2 separate regions of the Homo sapiens genome follow, and region 1 is linked to region 2. The links are contacts of gene promoters, found by promoter capture Hi-C in blood cells and fetal thymus (Javierre and others, 2016). All regions are on one chromosome and are shown on one strand. Each heading gives the region's core, a stretch centred on a gene start or on the middle of the fragment in contact. The rest is flanking DNA. Distances are from core to core; before and after follow the strand shown.

Evidence for each region. Contacts are between HindIII fragments. The CHiCAGO score rates a contact against its expected background, and 5 or more counts as called.
Region 1: the fragment with the promoter of ARHGAP45 here is called in contact with the fragment with the promoter of CD79A in region 2 in 1 of 17 cell types (non-activated CD4 T cells); the score reaches 5.9 in non-activated CD4 T cells.

The regions. Positions count from the first base shown.
Region 1 is chr19:1,065,917-1,073,175 of GRCh38, forward strand. ARHGAP45 (Rho GTPase activating protein 45) reads left to right here and starts at 1,251. Exons shown (of 23, transcript NM_012292.5): 1 at 1,251-1,579; 2 at 2,498-2,828; 3 at 7,233-7,259. The coding sequence starts at 1,490. RefSeq lists enhancers at 694-1,200, 3,391-3,550 and silencers at 1,061-1,820, 2,131-2,370, 2,901-3,000. The HindIII fragment of the contact is 10,211 bases long and covers 8-7,259 here.
Region 2 is chr19:41,874,223-41,881,107 of GRCh38, forward strand. CD79A (CD79a molecule) reads left to right here and starts at 3,057. Exons shown (of 5, transcript NM_001783.4): 1 at 3,057-3,161; 2 at 4,768-5,067; 3 at 5,313-5,431; 4 at 6,448-6,516; 5 at 6,645-6,885. The coding sequence starts at 3,083. The coding sequence ends at 6,758. RefSeq lists an enhancer at 1,722-1,791 and a silencer at 3,199-3,258. The HindIII fragment of the contact is 1,040 bases long and covers 2,493-3,532 here.

The sequences.
Region 1 (7,259 bases), core at 1-2,500, about 41 Mb before region 2:
CCTGGGAAGCTTACAGGAGCCCGGTGTCCCGGAGCACAGGCCAGGGCCGGGCCAGAAGCCCATCCGACATCCAGCTGACCCTCACCCTCTGACCCCAGCCCTCAGCGCCATGAGTCGGGGGCAAAGAGTTCTCAAGGGTCTGCTGGGCTGGGTTTGCACTTGGACCTGGGCCTGGAGAGCCAGACTTGGAGCAAGGGGCTGTGGCCTTCATGTCCTGTGCCCCAGAGATCTGCCCCTCCCACCCGAGGTAGGTGGGAATGGGGTTTGGGAAAGGAAAGAGGTTGGGGTTTTGGGATTGGGGGTGGGGTTCTGGAAGGGGACAGCAGGGAGACTTGGGGAGGGGGGAGAGAGTTCACACTGCGGGGTGGGGGTTGGGGGAAGGTAGGAGGCTGGGATCTGTATGCCTGCAGATGCCCCAGCTCTTGGCCAATGCCGCCTCAGGCTGTTATCAGCAACGGGTGCCTGCGTCCTGCTGCCCAGCACGTCCGGTGGTCCAGAGTCACTGGAATGCAGCTTGGGAGGCGGGGCTGGGGACCTTAGCTAAGGGCAGGTCTGGGGCAACATGATATGGCCCACAGGGCTGCTGAGAGGTAACCAGGTGTCCTCAGCATATTCTGCCGATGGTGGGGTCCACACCACACTTTGGGGACCCCTGTGCAGGCAGCCCAGGACCAGGTGGACGTGGGGACCCAGACGGACGTGGGGACCCAGACGGACAGGGCCCGGTAACCTGGATTGTTCTGACTTCCTGGACGTCTTTGCCCCCAGGGTTTCGGTTCTGGGCCTCAGTTTCCCCACCTGTCCTCGACCTGACCCACTTCACGGGGCTGCAGGGCGGGTGATGGGGGGGACCCTACTCTGCCCGGCCCTGCTGGGGCCCGGCCACACCCTAGGGTCTGCAGGAGAGGCGGTGGAGCGGGCTTGCCTTCAGGGAAAAGGGGGCTGCAGGGGCGCAGCTTCGGCCTGTGCGTGTGTCTGGGGTCTGAGGGCGAGGCTCCAGGGGCTTGGTGGCGTCTGAGCGCGTGTGGAGGTCCGGGTCTCTGCGTGTCATCGTGCACGTGTCTGTGCACGCCCACTCGCGTCCGGGAGTGAGAGTCAGCGCCCTGCAGTCGGCCGCCCCGTGCCCGCCAGCGTCAGGCAGGGGCTCCCGGTCCCACCCCGCGAGCGGCGCGGCTCCGAGCTCCCGAAGGCGGAAGCGGGGGGCGCGGCCCGGGGCTGGGGGCGGGGCCTGCGACCTCACCTTCGCGCCCACTCCGCAGAGCCGCAGGCTGAGGCCGGGAAGGGTCGGGGGCGAGGCCGCGTCGCCGCCTCCCCGAAGCCTTTTCCTGTTGGGGGGAGGGCCCGCCAGTGACGGCCGGGCCTGTCACGTGGGCCTGACAGCTGGGGAGGGGGTGGCCGGCGACAATGTGGTCCCGAAGCGGCCAGCGCCGGGAGCTGCAGCGCTGAGACCCCCAGCCCGCCCCCTCGGGCTCCCGGCCGGGGCCCCATCATGTTCTCCAGGAAGAAACGAGAGCTCATGAAAACCCCTTCCATCTCGAAAAAGAACCGCGCGGGAAGCCCCAGCCCGCAGCCCTCGGGGGTGAGTGGAGCCCGGGTGAGACCCGGAGCTGACGCCGGGCCGCAGGGGGACAGGGACCCGCCCTGTGCTCGGGGCTCATGCTGGGGCGGCGGCTGGGGGCTCGTGCCAGCTACAGCCCCTACCGGGCGGGACGGCAGGGGCCACAGCAGAGAGGCCGGGACCCCGGCATTCAGCTCACGGTAGGGACCCTGGGAGTGGTGGCCGCCTCCCTCCACTCCATCCAGGGCTGGCCGCGGGGCCCAGGGAGCAGGAAGGGAGGGTGCCGGGTTGGGACGATGTTGTGTTTGGGCCGCTGCAGGTTGGGGGCTTAGGCAATCTGGGGGCTCTAGGGGCCGTTGAGATGGGAGGGCTGTGGCCTGGCCATTGGGCTGAAGGTTGACCGGGCAGCAGATCCTCTAATGGGATCCACCAGGTTCAGAGGTTGGGGAGTGTCCCCAGGCCTGGGGTGTCTACAAAGCTGGGGGGGGGGTCTACAGAGCTTGGGGGTCCGGGATGTCTACAAGGCCTGGGGCTGCCCATAGGCTCTGGGGTTCCATGGACCTTTAGGGGACAGACAGAGTCAGAAGTGTGTTCACTTAAAGCACCTGCGTTGTAGGAGCCTGAGGGGGGCTTGAAGGGCTGAGGACCCTCCCCACCCCCACCAGGAAGTGGGGACCCCCCTCCCGCGCCTCCCCGCAGGCCCCGCCCCGGCTGTGGTTTGGGCAAGGACCGTTGTTTGTGAAAGCTCTAGGGAAGAGGATGTTGGGTAACAGGTGGGGGGGTACACTACCAAATCTCGGCCCTGTGACCTCTGGCCTTTGACCCCTGTGGGGTCAGGGTGATGGTGGCCCTCCACAGCCCCACTTCATTTCTGGGGAAACTGAGGCCGTGTCCAGGCCGGAAAATCCCTTTAACGAGCTCCCCTCGGACCTGCCCAAGGAGCTGCCCAGGAAGGATGGGGCTGACGCGGTGTTCCCCGGACCAAGCCTGGAGCCGCCCGCTGGGTCCTCCGGCGTCAAGGCCACAGGGACCCTCAAGCGGCCCACCAGCCTGAGCCGCCACGCCAGCGCGGCTGGCTTCCCCCTGTCGGGTGCTGCCTCCTGGACACTGGGCCGGAGCCACCGGAGCCCACTGACAGCCGCCAGCCCGGGCGAGCTGCCCACCGAGGGTGCCGGCCCGGACGTCGTCGAGGACATCTCCCATCTGCTGGCGGACGTGGCCCGCTTCGCTGAGGGCCTTGAGAAACTTAAGGAGTGTGTGTTGCGTGACGGTGAGAGCCACGGGGACACCGAGGCCTGGGTGGAAGACAGAGCCAGACCCAAGGGAGGATGGAGGGAGGGACTTGGGGAGGCTCAGAAGGGAGGGAGGCTCAGATGGCAGGGAGGGCTGTGTGGAAGAGGCCATGACAGCTAAGGCTCTGAGGGATGTGTAGGAGTTTGGTGGGGGAGTCCCTGAGCGTACACTGGCTCAAGAGGGTGCCCACTTTATTTTTTTTAAAGGATCTGATGGCAATTAGGAGGGAAAGGCAGAGGAAATGTCCCATGCACAGGCTCAGAAACACGGAAACAGAGAATGCATTTGGGGGCCAAGGTGTGGGGTGCCGCTGGTGTAGGATGAAGGCATGACAACGCCAGGCAGAAGGGCAATGGGGAGCCATAGAAGGTGTTAGAGCACAGGACAGATGGGGGCAGATCTGTGTCTTGGAATGAAGCAAACTGGGGGTTGGCTGAGGTCTGGGTGGAGAGAGATTCAGGAGGCATGGCGAGGGGCAGGATGGGGTCATCAGGCGGCGGAGGTGCTGGGACCCAGCGGCCTGCAGGCCGGCAGTTCCGTTTTCTCCTCCACGCGGCCGCTGACAGCCCTGCTTCCTGCCGAGTTATTTTCATCTGCTTCCTGTTTGTCCCTGGCAGCCCAGGCGGGCACCTCATGTGCTGCCTTCAGCCCCCGGCTCCTCCCAGAAACCACAGTGCCAGGGTCATGCCAGGCGCTCTGATCTGCTCCCAGCAGCCGCCCATTTTACAGATGACGAAACTAAGTCTCTAGTGAGGCCCTGACCCCTGGCTCACCCAGCCAGGGCAGGGCAGAGCCAGGACTGGACCTCAAGTGGTGGAGTGGCCTCTGCACCTTCAGGGCACTAGTTGGGGAAGGCCCGGTCCCCACTGGGAGGAGTGGGAGCCCCCGGGTTATCTGGTCCCAGGGGCGGGGGCTAGGCTGCTTTCCTGGGGAAACCCTAATCTCGGTTCCTTTCCGATCCTGGCGCTTCCTTGGAGGCCTGGCCTGGGCGGGGCTCAGCTCCCAGGCTCCTGCAGGAGGTCTGAACTGGGCCAGCCAGGGTGGGGCACTTTTTTTTTTTTTTTTTTGATACAGGGTCTTGCTCTGTTGCCCAGGCTGGAGTCCAGTGGTGTGATTGAGGCTCACTGTTACCTTGAACTCCTGGGCTCAAGCCATCCTCCTACCTCTGCCTCCCGAGTACCTGAGACTACAGGCATGAGCCACTGCACCTGATTTATTTTATTTTATTTATTTTATTTGAGATGGTGAGATGGAGTCTCACTCTGTCGCCCAGGCTGGAGTGCAGTGGCGCGATCTCGGCTCATTGCAACCTTCCTCTCTCGGGTTCAAGTGATTCTTCTGCCTCAGGCTCCCGAGTAGCTAGGACTACAGGTGCGTGCCACCACACCTGGCTAATTTTTGTATTTTTAGTAGAGATGGGGTTTCACCATATTGGCCAGGTTGGTCTCAAACCCCTAACCTCGTGATCCGCATGCCTCAGCCTCCCAAAGTGCTGGGATTACAGCAGGCATGAGCCACCGTGCCCGGGCTTTTCTTTTTTTCTTTCTTTTTCTTTTCTTTTCTTTTTTTTTTTTTTTTTTTGAGACAGAGTCTCACTCTGTCACCCAGGCTGGAGTGCAGGGGCGAGATCTCAGCTCACTGCAACCTCCACCTCCTGGGTTCAAGTGGTTCTTCTGCCTCAGCCTCCCGAGTGGCTGGGATTGCAGGGGCGCGCCACCGTGCCCGGCTAATTTTTTTTCTTTCTTTTTTTTTTTTTTTTAGTAGAGATGGGGTTTCACCATTTTGGCCAGGCTGGTCTTGAACTCCTGATCTCAAGTGATCCACCCACCTCGGCCTCCCAAAGCGCCAGGATTACAGGCGTGAGCCATCGCGCCCGGCCAGTTTTTGTATTTTTTGTAGAGACCGGGGTCTCCCCATATTGCGCAGGCTGGTCTAGAACTCCCGAGCTAAAAACCGTTCTCCCGGCTCCGCCTCCCAAAGTGCTGGGATAACAGGCCTGATCCACCGCGCCCGGCTGGGGGCGCCTTCTGTGCGTCTCGGGGCCGCCCCAGGCCAGAGAAGACCCTGGCGGCTAGGATGTGGGCTCTAGTCCCGATGTTTCTCAGCTGCTGAGACCCTGGCAAGCCCCTTCCCTCTCTAGGTGTCAGGTGACTTATCTATAAAATGGGGCCACCTGCATGCAGCGATGGTTGTGGGGTCCACCCCACAGCTTGGGGACCCGCGTTCAGGCAGCTAGGAGGGGACCCACATGGACGGTGCCACCCCGACACTTCCCGGGCTTCCTCGTTCCCGGGCTTCAGGTCTGGGCCTCAGTTTCCCTGCCCGTCCTCGACCCTCCCCACCTCGAAGCTCTGCGGTTAAGGAAGGACCCAGGCTGGGGCGAACGGGACCCCAGGGCGGGGTTTCCCTCGCGGGGGCGGGGCCTCCTGACCGGCCGGAGCCGGTTTGGCCACCGGAGACCCCCATCGGTCAGCTGCCAGGCCCCACGCGCTCGCGGTCTCCGCGCCCCGACGGCTGCGCCATGTGTATCTGCGGGACGGCGCACCCGGTGCTGGACGAGGGCCCCGTGCGCTGCCGGGCGGGCCCCCGAGGTGAGGGGACAGGTGCCGGGCGCTGGGTCCCGCCGCGTCCGGGAGCACGTGGCGCTCGGGCCGTTTGCCGCCCGCGGTGGGGGAGCAGCGGCTGCCGCGCGCCTGGCCTGGCCGTGCGCACCTGGGCATCCCTGCGCTGCGCAGGGGTCGCGCCGGCCGCCGGCTTCCCGGGTAGGGGGTGTGCGGGGACAGCCGGGGGTCCGTGCGCCGGCCGCGCGCGGAGTGCCGGGTGCCCGGCTGGAAGGTCCCGAGAAGGGGCGTGGCCGGGGCCTCCCAGCGGCTTCCCGGAGCTCCTGGAGCCCCAATCCCATTCCCGGAGTCCGCCTCGCATCCAGCAGCGAAGACATGTTCCGGTCCGGGGTCTCAGGCCCGGCGGCGGCCAGCGGGGTATCTCTGGCGGGTGACTCGGTCGGTCTCTTCCCGGAGGTGACATTCACCTGGGGTCTTCGGTGCCGAAAGGGATGGGGCACTTACTTTTTCAGATTTCATTTCGTATTTGGGGCATCCTCTGAGCGGTACAGTCAGGCGTCAAAGCTGCCCCTCCCGCTGGCCTCTGTCCTCCCGGGTACCTTTCCCCTCCTACGAATTCCGTGGGTTTGTTTCCACTACGTGGTGTGTGCCTGGCTCTCGATGTTTCGCCTGTACTCTCTGCTTTTTTCTTTTCTTTCCTTCTTTTCTTTTCTTTCCTTTTCTTTCTTTCTTTTCTTTCCTTTCTTTTTGGGATGGAGGAGTCTCACTCTGTCACCCAGCTGGAGTGCAGTGGCGCGATCTCGGCTCACTGCAACCTCCGCCTCCCAGCTTCAAGCGATTCTCCTGCCTCAGCCTCCCGAGTAGCCGGCATTACAGAGGAGTGCCACCACGCTGCTACTTTTTGTATTTTTAGTAGAGGCAGGGTTTCGCCATGTTGGCCAGGATGGTCTCAAACTCCTGACCTCAAGTGATCTGCCTGCCTCGGCCTCACCAAGTGCTGGGATTACAGGCATGAGGCACTGTGCTTGGCCCTCTCTGCTTTTTTCTTCTTCCAATTGAGAACGTTCGATGAGGGCATTTAGCTTTTTATTCTTTATTTTATTTCTTACAGAGACAGGGTCTTACTGTATTGCCCAGGCTGGTCTTGAATTCCTGGGCTCAACCCGTCCTCCTGCCTCAGCCTCCCAAAGTGCTGGGGTCACAGGTGTAAGCCACCACCCCTGGCTGAGGAGGGCAGTGAAAGCCAGGTTCCAACAGTCAGATCTGACCTCCTCTGTTCTAACACCTTCTATGGCTCCCTATTGCCCTGGAGATAAAGCCAGGCAGGATCCCTCTGCCTGGCGTTCTCACGCCTTCAGAGCTAGCGTAGATGGAAAAGCTGTGTGATTGTTGAGAAATGGCTTCCCCTCTCTATGCCTCAGTTTCCTCACTTAGGAAGGGCAGAGAGAGACCTGGACAGGGCTTTGAGCAGTCCTGAGGAGTTAGGGCAGGGAAGGAGCCTGGTGGGCTGCATGGAGGAAGGGGCTGCAGGACTGTAGCTTGAAGGACAAGAGGCAGTTTGCTTTCTGGAGGGACAAGAAAAGAGTGTTCTGAGCAGCAGAGTGCCTAGGCCAACGTCTGGCCTTTGTTGATCTGGCCGGTAGCCCAGGGAGGGACAGTGCCCTCCCCGCGGTCTCGAAATGAGCCCCAGGCATCTGCCGTCTTCCACCTCTGCCTCAGTTTCCCCATCTGGGAACAGGAGCTCTAAAGAGGGAGGAGGTGGACAGACTTTCCCTGGGACTGGGCCCTACCCCACTGCTCACTCCGACTCTCCCCAGCAGACCTCCTTGAGGCCCGCCGCCCGCGGG
Region 2 (6,885 bases), core at 1,807-4,306:
AGAGTGAAACACCGTCTCAAAAAAAAAAAAAAAAAAGAGTTTGAGACCAGCCTGGCCAACATGGTGAAACCCTGTGTCTATGAAAAAAAAAATTGGCTGGGCATGGTGGTGCACACCTGTAATTCCAGCTACTTGGGAGGCTGAGACAGGAGAACAGCTTGAACCCAGGAGGCGGAGGCTGCAGTGAGCCAAGATTGTGCCGCCACTGCACTTCAGCCTGGGCAACAGAGCAAGACTCCATCTCAAAAAAAAAAATCTGAAATACTTCAGGCATGCAAGTATTTAGCATTCAGTATTCATAATGTAAGAAAAACCTATGAAGCACAACCCAGTTTAAGTAACACAGGCAGGGCAGGGTGCAGTGCCTATAATCCCAGCACTTCGGGAGGCCAAGCTGGGAGAATCACTTGAGGTCAGGACTTCCAGGCCAGCCTGGGCAACACAGTGAGACCCTGTCTTTACAAAAAATTTAAAAAATAGGCCCAGTGCGGTGGATCATGCCTGTAATCCCAGCACTTTGGGAGGCCGAGGCGAGTGGATCATCAGGTCAGGAGATTGAGACCATCCTGGCTAACACGGTGAAACCCCATCTCTACTAAAAAAATACAAAAAATTAGCCGGTCATGGTGGCATCTGCTTGTAGTCCCAGCTACTCAGGAGGCTGAGGCAGGAGAATCACTTGAACCCGGGAGGCGGAGGTTGCAGTGAGCCAAGATCACACCATCGCACTCCAGCCTGGGCTACACAGCGAGACTCTGTCTCAAAAGAAAAAAAAAATTAAAAATAGCCAGGCATGGTGTGTGCACCTGTAATCCCAGCTACTTGGGAAGCTGAGGCAAGAGAATCACTTGAGCCCAGGAGTTTGACGTTATGATTATGCCACTGGACACCAGCCTTGGTGACAGAGAGAGGCCCTATCTCTAAAAAAGAAAAAAAAAAAAGTGGCCAGCCACGGTGGCTCCCGCCTGTAATCCCAGCACTTTGGGAGGCTGAGGTGGGTGGATTACCTGAGGTCAGGAGTGTGAGACCAGCCTGCCCAACATGGTGAAACCTGGTCTCTACTAAAAATACAAAAATATAGCCAGGCATGGTGGTGGCCGCCTGTAATCCCAGCTACTGAGGAGGCTGAGGCAGGAGAATCACTTGAACCTGGGAGGCAGAGGTTGCAGTGAGCCAAGATCACGCCACTGCACTTCAGCCTGGGTGACAAAGCGAGACTCCGTCTCAAAAAAAAAAAAAAAAAAAGTAACACAGGAAATAAAACCAAGACAAGATGAGCTCTCTGTGTCTCTGTGTGTCCCTCCCCAGACCCAACCCTGGCGTCCCCCAGAGGTAACCCCTCCCAGGAACTGGGCGTTTGCCACTCCCCTGCACGGGTCTACACCTCTGCTACAAACGTGTGTCCCTAAGCAGCGGACGCCTTTTGAAAACAAGTCAACTGTATCATGCTACGATATTTTTTCTGATGTTTGTGCTGTTTCTGAGACAGCCTTATGACACCTTCCCCTATTCTGTAGCATTCTGTTGGCTCACTTTGCCACAGTGTATGCACCCATTCTCCCACAAATGGACTTTTCATTTGCTTCTCAATGTTTGCTACCAAAAATCTCCCTGCAATAAATTTATTTTATATATCCCCTTGTATGTGTGTGAGGGTCCCCTAACTGCTCACAAATATCTCAGCAACTCCGCCCTCCCCACTCAGACCTCATTTCCCTCCTACCAGACATGCTCAAAGGAAACTGGGAGCAACACAAAGATGACTTTGAATCTCTGTCCACCACCCCTAGACTGTATGACACCCGCAAGTGACAACCTCCCCTCTCTGGCCTCGGTTTCCCCCTCTGTAAAATGGGGGATGGCCTACCTTGCCAGTCATGGCAGGTCAATATAAAACAACTTCTGGCTGTGCACAGTGGCACATGCCTGTAATCCCAGCACTTTGGGAAGCTGAGGCAGGAGGATTGCTTGAGGCCAGGAGTTCAAGACCAGCCTGGGCAATATAGCAAGATCCCATCCCTCTTAAAAAAAAAAAAGAAGAAAAATATATGTTGTTGTTGTTATTATTGTTATTATTAGAGACAGAGTTTCGCTTTTGTCACCCAGGCTGGAGTGCAATGGTGTGATCTCAGCTCACTGCAACCTCCACCTCCTGGGTTCAACTGATTCTCCTGCCTCAGCCTCCTGAGTAGCTGGAATAATAGGCATGTGCCACAACATCTGGCTAATTTTGTATTTTTAGTAGAGATGGGGTTTCGCCATGTTGGCCAGGCTGGTCTCAAACTCGACCTCAGGTGATTCTCCTGTCTCAGCCTCCCAAAGGGCTGGGATTACAGGCATAAGCCACCATAGCTGGCCTGTTTTTTTAAAAAAAGAATTCCAGTAAAGAGCTGATCATGGTTCTCACTCCTTGAATACCAGGAACACCATCTCGTATCACATAATGAGACAGGGAGACATTCTGGTCCTCATCTCACAGATGAAAAATGTCAAGCTTCGAAGGATCAAAGTGCCCACCTAGTCACACGGGTAGTCAGCCACAGGTCAGCCTGCCTTATTTATTCTTCATGAGTATTTATAGTGACTAACATTTACTGGGCGCCTACTGTGGGCCATTTCTGTGCATGTGACAACCCCTTTAAGTCCTTGTTTCTAATCCCAAGAAGCAAGGAAATGGGGTCAGGGAAGGGACAAGGTTTGCCCAAGTCCAGGCAGGGGGAGAGGTCAAGCTCAGAACCATCACCTGCCCATGACACATGCCCAGGACTCAGGTTCCCTAGGCTTCCTTCCAAAGGCTCAGCAGTGACGAGCCAGCCCTTGAACCAGCCTCTTCCCCCACCCAAGCAGCCACCTCTCAGGGGAATTGTGGCCACCACAGGTGCAGGGAGCAGTTTCTCTCCACTCACAGCCTGAAGCATACCCGGCAGGGGCTGTCCCCAGGCCCAACAAGCAAAGGGCCCAGTAGCGAGGGCCACTGGAGCCCATCTCCGGGGGGCTGGGCAGGAAGTAGGGTGGGGTTTGGGGTAGGGATCTGGTACCCTGGGACTGCTGCAACTCAAACTAACCAACCCACTGGGAGAAGATGCCTGGGGGTCCAGGAGTCCTCCAAGCTCTGCCTGCCACCATCTTCCTCCTCTTCCTGCTGTCTGCTGTCTACCTGGGTATGTGGCCAAAGGGCAGGAACTGGCGGGAGGTGGGGGAAGCTGTGGAGGCTGCAGAGAGGGCACAGGCAGAGGGAAGGGGGCTCAGGGAAAGGGGAAGAGGAGGCAGAGGATAGGGGACCCAGGGAAGATGCCTATAGAAATCGTATCTGTGCCAAGATGGGCCAAGGTGGGGCTGGAGGGAGCCCAGCGAAGGAGAAGGGGCGTCCACAGTCTCACACAGGGAGGCAGGAGCAAGAGTCACCTCCCCCACCTCCTGTTCCCCACAGGCCAAAATAAGGAACTAAAGTTGCTCTTGACTGAGCACCAGGGCTGGGGGCAGGAAGGGGACTTAGGGGTAGCAGCATTCAGCGTCTGTCAAGGGGAGAAAAAGCTTTCTCTGCCTTAAACCTCAGGTGCCTCTCTCTGTTGGGAGTCCCTTCTCAGCACTGGGGGAATGGGTGTCTCATGGACTCCCCCTCACCTGCTCAAGGACAGCTGGCAGGGGCTGTGGCCACGCTAACCCAGGAGTTCAGAGAAAAAGGTTCCCCACCCAAGGGGACACTGGGAGCAAGGATTGGAGTTCACGTCTGAGTCTTAAGCCCGTGACGATGAGGGTGCTCGGCCCCTCTCCCCATCTCTTCCTCCTTCTCTCTTCCTCACCTCCCTCCTCCACCTACCTCCAGAAGAGGGGACTGGCCATGTGGGAGGCCTGGCTGAGAGCTGGGGCTTCCCAGAGGAGCCCGGATTGGACACTGCAGCCAGCCTGAGCCGCCTCGTCTCACTCAGAGACACCCCCAGTCTCCACCCCGCTCTGAGCCCCTTCAATCACCAGCAGCCCAGCCCAAGGACTGAACTCACCCCTGACCCCTAGGTTGACACATACAACTTACAGAGAATGAGGGCCAGGCACAGGGTCACAGGCCAGGGCAGGCCACAGACTGGCTCCTCAGCCCAGGCAGGGAGAGGCCAGGGAGCCAAGAGTTTGAACCCAGTGCCACTCCTGACTGCCTGGTGATGCTGGCAACCCGCCTGCCCTCCCAGAGCCTCAGCCATCCCTCCTGTAAAATGGGGCTAAGGAGAGAACCTACTTCTAGGGTTCTGTGAATGATTACACAAGAAAAAGCGCCAGGTGCTGGGCCTGGCTGAGGCTGGGGTGCAAAAATGGACCGGGAAGGCTGCGGGAGGAGGGGACGCCTGCACTGCTTCTGGAAGGAGCTGTCTGGACAGCGGTCCTCCAGTGCCTGGAACAAACATCCAAAATCCAGAGAGTTCACAGGGCCAGAGTACAAAGTGGGTATGCGGGAGGGGGGCAAGAGATGGCGCTGCAGAGGTGAGAAGGGCCTCCCAGGGGTCTTACCATCCCAGGGAGTCTCATTCTCCTCTCCCAGGATATCCTCACCCACCCCAACCAGGTATGTCCTCTCTCCTTCCCAGGGGCTTCTTCACTTTCCCGCATCCCCCCTCTCCCCAGGATGTATCAGCCCCTGTCAGGGGCTCTCTCTCTCCCTCCCCACCCAGGAGAGTCCTCACCCTCTTCCCAGGAGTGCTGGAACTGCAGGGGCCAGGGCTGGGGAAATGTGTCACCATCCCCAGTCCCTGACCCACCCACCCTGTCTCTCCACAGGCCCTGGGTGCCAGGCCCTGTGGATGCACAAGGTCCCAGCATCATTGATGGTGAGCCTGGGGGAAGACGCCCACTTCCAATGCCCGCACAATAGCAGCAACAACGCCAACGTCACCTGGTGGCGCGTCCTCCATGGCAACTACACGTGGCCCCCTGAGTTCTTGGGCCCGGGCGAGGACCCCAATGGTACGCTGATCATCCAGAATGTGAACAAGAGCCATGGGGGCATATACGTGTGCCGGGTCCAGGAGGGCAACGAGTCATACCAGCAGTCCTGCGGCACCTACCTCCGCGTGCGCCGTGAGTGGCCCAGCCCTGGCCCCTACTCCCACTGTCCCGCTGGGGACACTCGGTTTATCTTTGAAGTGGGGATAGAGCCAGTACCTTCAATGTGGGTTTCAAACCGGCTTGGACAGAGGGACGGACATTCTCCTCTGCAGAGTGGGGTCTCTGGGGGGTCTGGGGCCTTGCAGGAGGTGGGCGGGGCCAGGAGGCTAGGGAGGGCAAGAGGGGCCAGGGCTCTGAGCCATACTACCTCCTTGCAGAGCCGCCCCCCAGGCCCTTCCTGGACATGGGGGAGGGCACCAAGAACCGAATCATCACAGCCGAGGGGATCATCCTCCTGTTCTGCGCGGTGGTGCCTGGGACGCTGCTGCTGTTCAGGGTGAGCCCCCTCGGACCTCTGAGTCAGCCGGGCGAGGGCCTGGGCCGAGGGACCCCCAATACCCAGGTAGCCCTCTAGAGCCTGAGGTTCCCCATCCAAAACTTGGGAGAATGAAAGCACCCACCATATAGGGGCTGTGGGAGTTAAATGAATGAATATAAAGAAGGGACTTGAACTGGCGCTGAGCCCAGGGGGTGTCTTCAATTTAGTTTCCCCTTCTGGGCTGTCCTCACGTCCACCTCCCCCCAAGAAGAGTCTCATTCTTCTCCCTAAGAGTGTCCTCACTCCCCTCCTGCCCTCACCCAGGAGTGTGGTTACCCTCCAGGTGTAGCCAAGACCAGGGAAGGTGGGGCCTGGTCCTCCCAGAATCTCTGATCTGTACCAGCCTCTCCTTAGGCACTACAGAAAGTGTGACTGTTATTGTTATTATTCATGGAGAATAGTAAGGGAGTGGAGACTCAAGAAGACGCTAGCTTGGGAGGCCGAGGCAAGAGGATCACTTGAGGCCACAAGTTTGAGACCAGCCTGGGCAACACAGCAAGACCCTATCTCTACACACACAAAGTCTTAAAAAAAAATTAGCCAGGCATGGTGGCACACACCTATAGTCCCAGCTACTCAGGAGGCTGAGGTGGGAGGATTGCTTGAGCCCAGGAGTTCAAGGCTGCAGTGAAATATGATGTTGCCACAGCACTTCAGCCTGGGCAACTGAGGGAGAAGAAAGAGAGAGAGAGAGAAAGAGAGAGAGAGAGAGAGAGAGAGAGAGAGGGCGAGAGGGAGGGAGGGAAGGAAGGGAAGGGAAGGAAGGAAGGAAGGAAGGAAGGAAGGAAGGAAGGAAGGAAGGAAGGAAGGAGAACACTGGTTGTAGACTCAGAGAGAACTGTTACATAACCAGTATGTGGCCTTGGGGACATCTCTTACCCTTTCTGGAAAAGTACTTCCTGGCATCCAGGAGGGTCTGAAAGATATTCACCTCCCCCTGCTCACTGAGGCACCCACCCCACCCACCCCTACAGAAACGATGGCAGAACGAGAAGCTCGGGTTGGATGCCGGGGATGAATATGAAGATGAAAACCTTTATGAAGTGAGTGAAGGGTGGGGATGGGGTAGGGGCAGTTGTGTTAGGGGTGGGGGTGTTCCCTCTGGGGGTGGCTGGGGGCAGGGACCCCAGGTGTCAGGGTGCTGATGTTCGCTGCCTCATTTCCATCCCAGGGCCTGAACCTGGACGACTGCTCCATGTATGAGGACATCTCCCGGGGCCTCCAGGGCACCTACCAGGATGTGGGCAGCCTCAACATAGGAGATGTCCAGCTGGAGAAGCCGTGACACCCCTACTCCTGCCAGGCTGCCCCCGCCTGCTGTGCACCCAGCTCCAGTGTCTCAGCTCACTTCCCTGGGACATTCTCCTTTCAGCCCTTCTGGGGGCTTCCTTAGTCATATTCCCCCAGTGGGG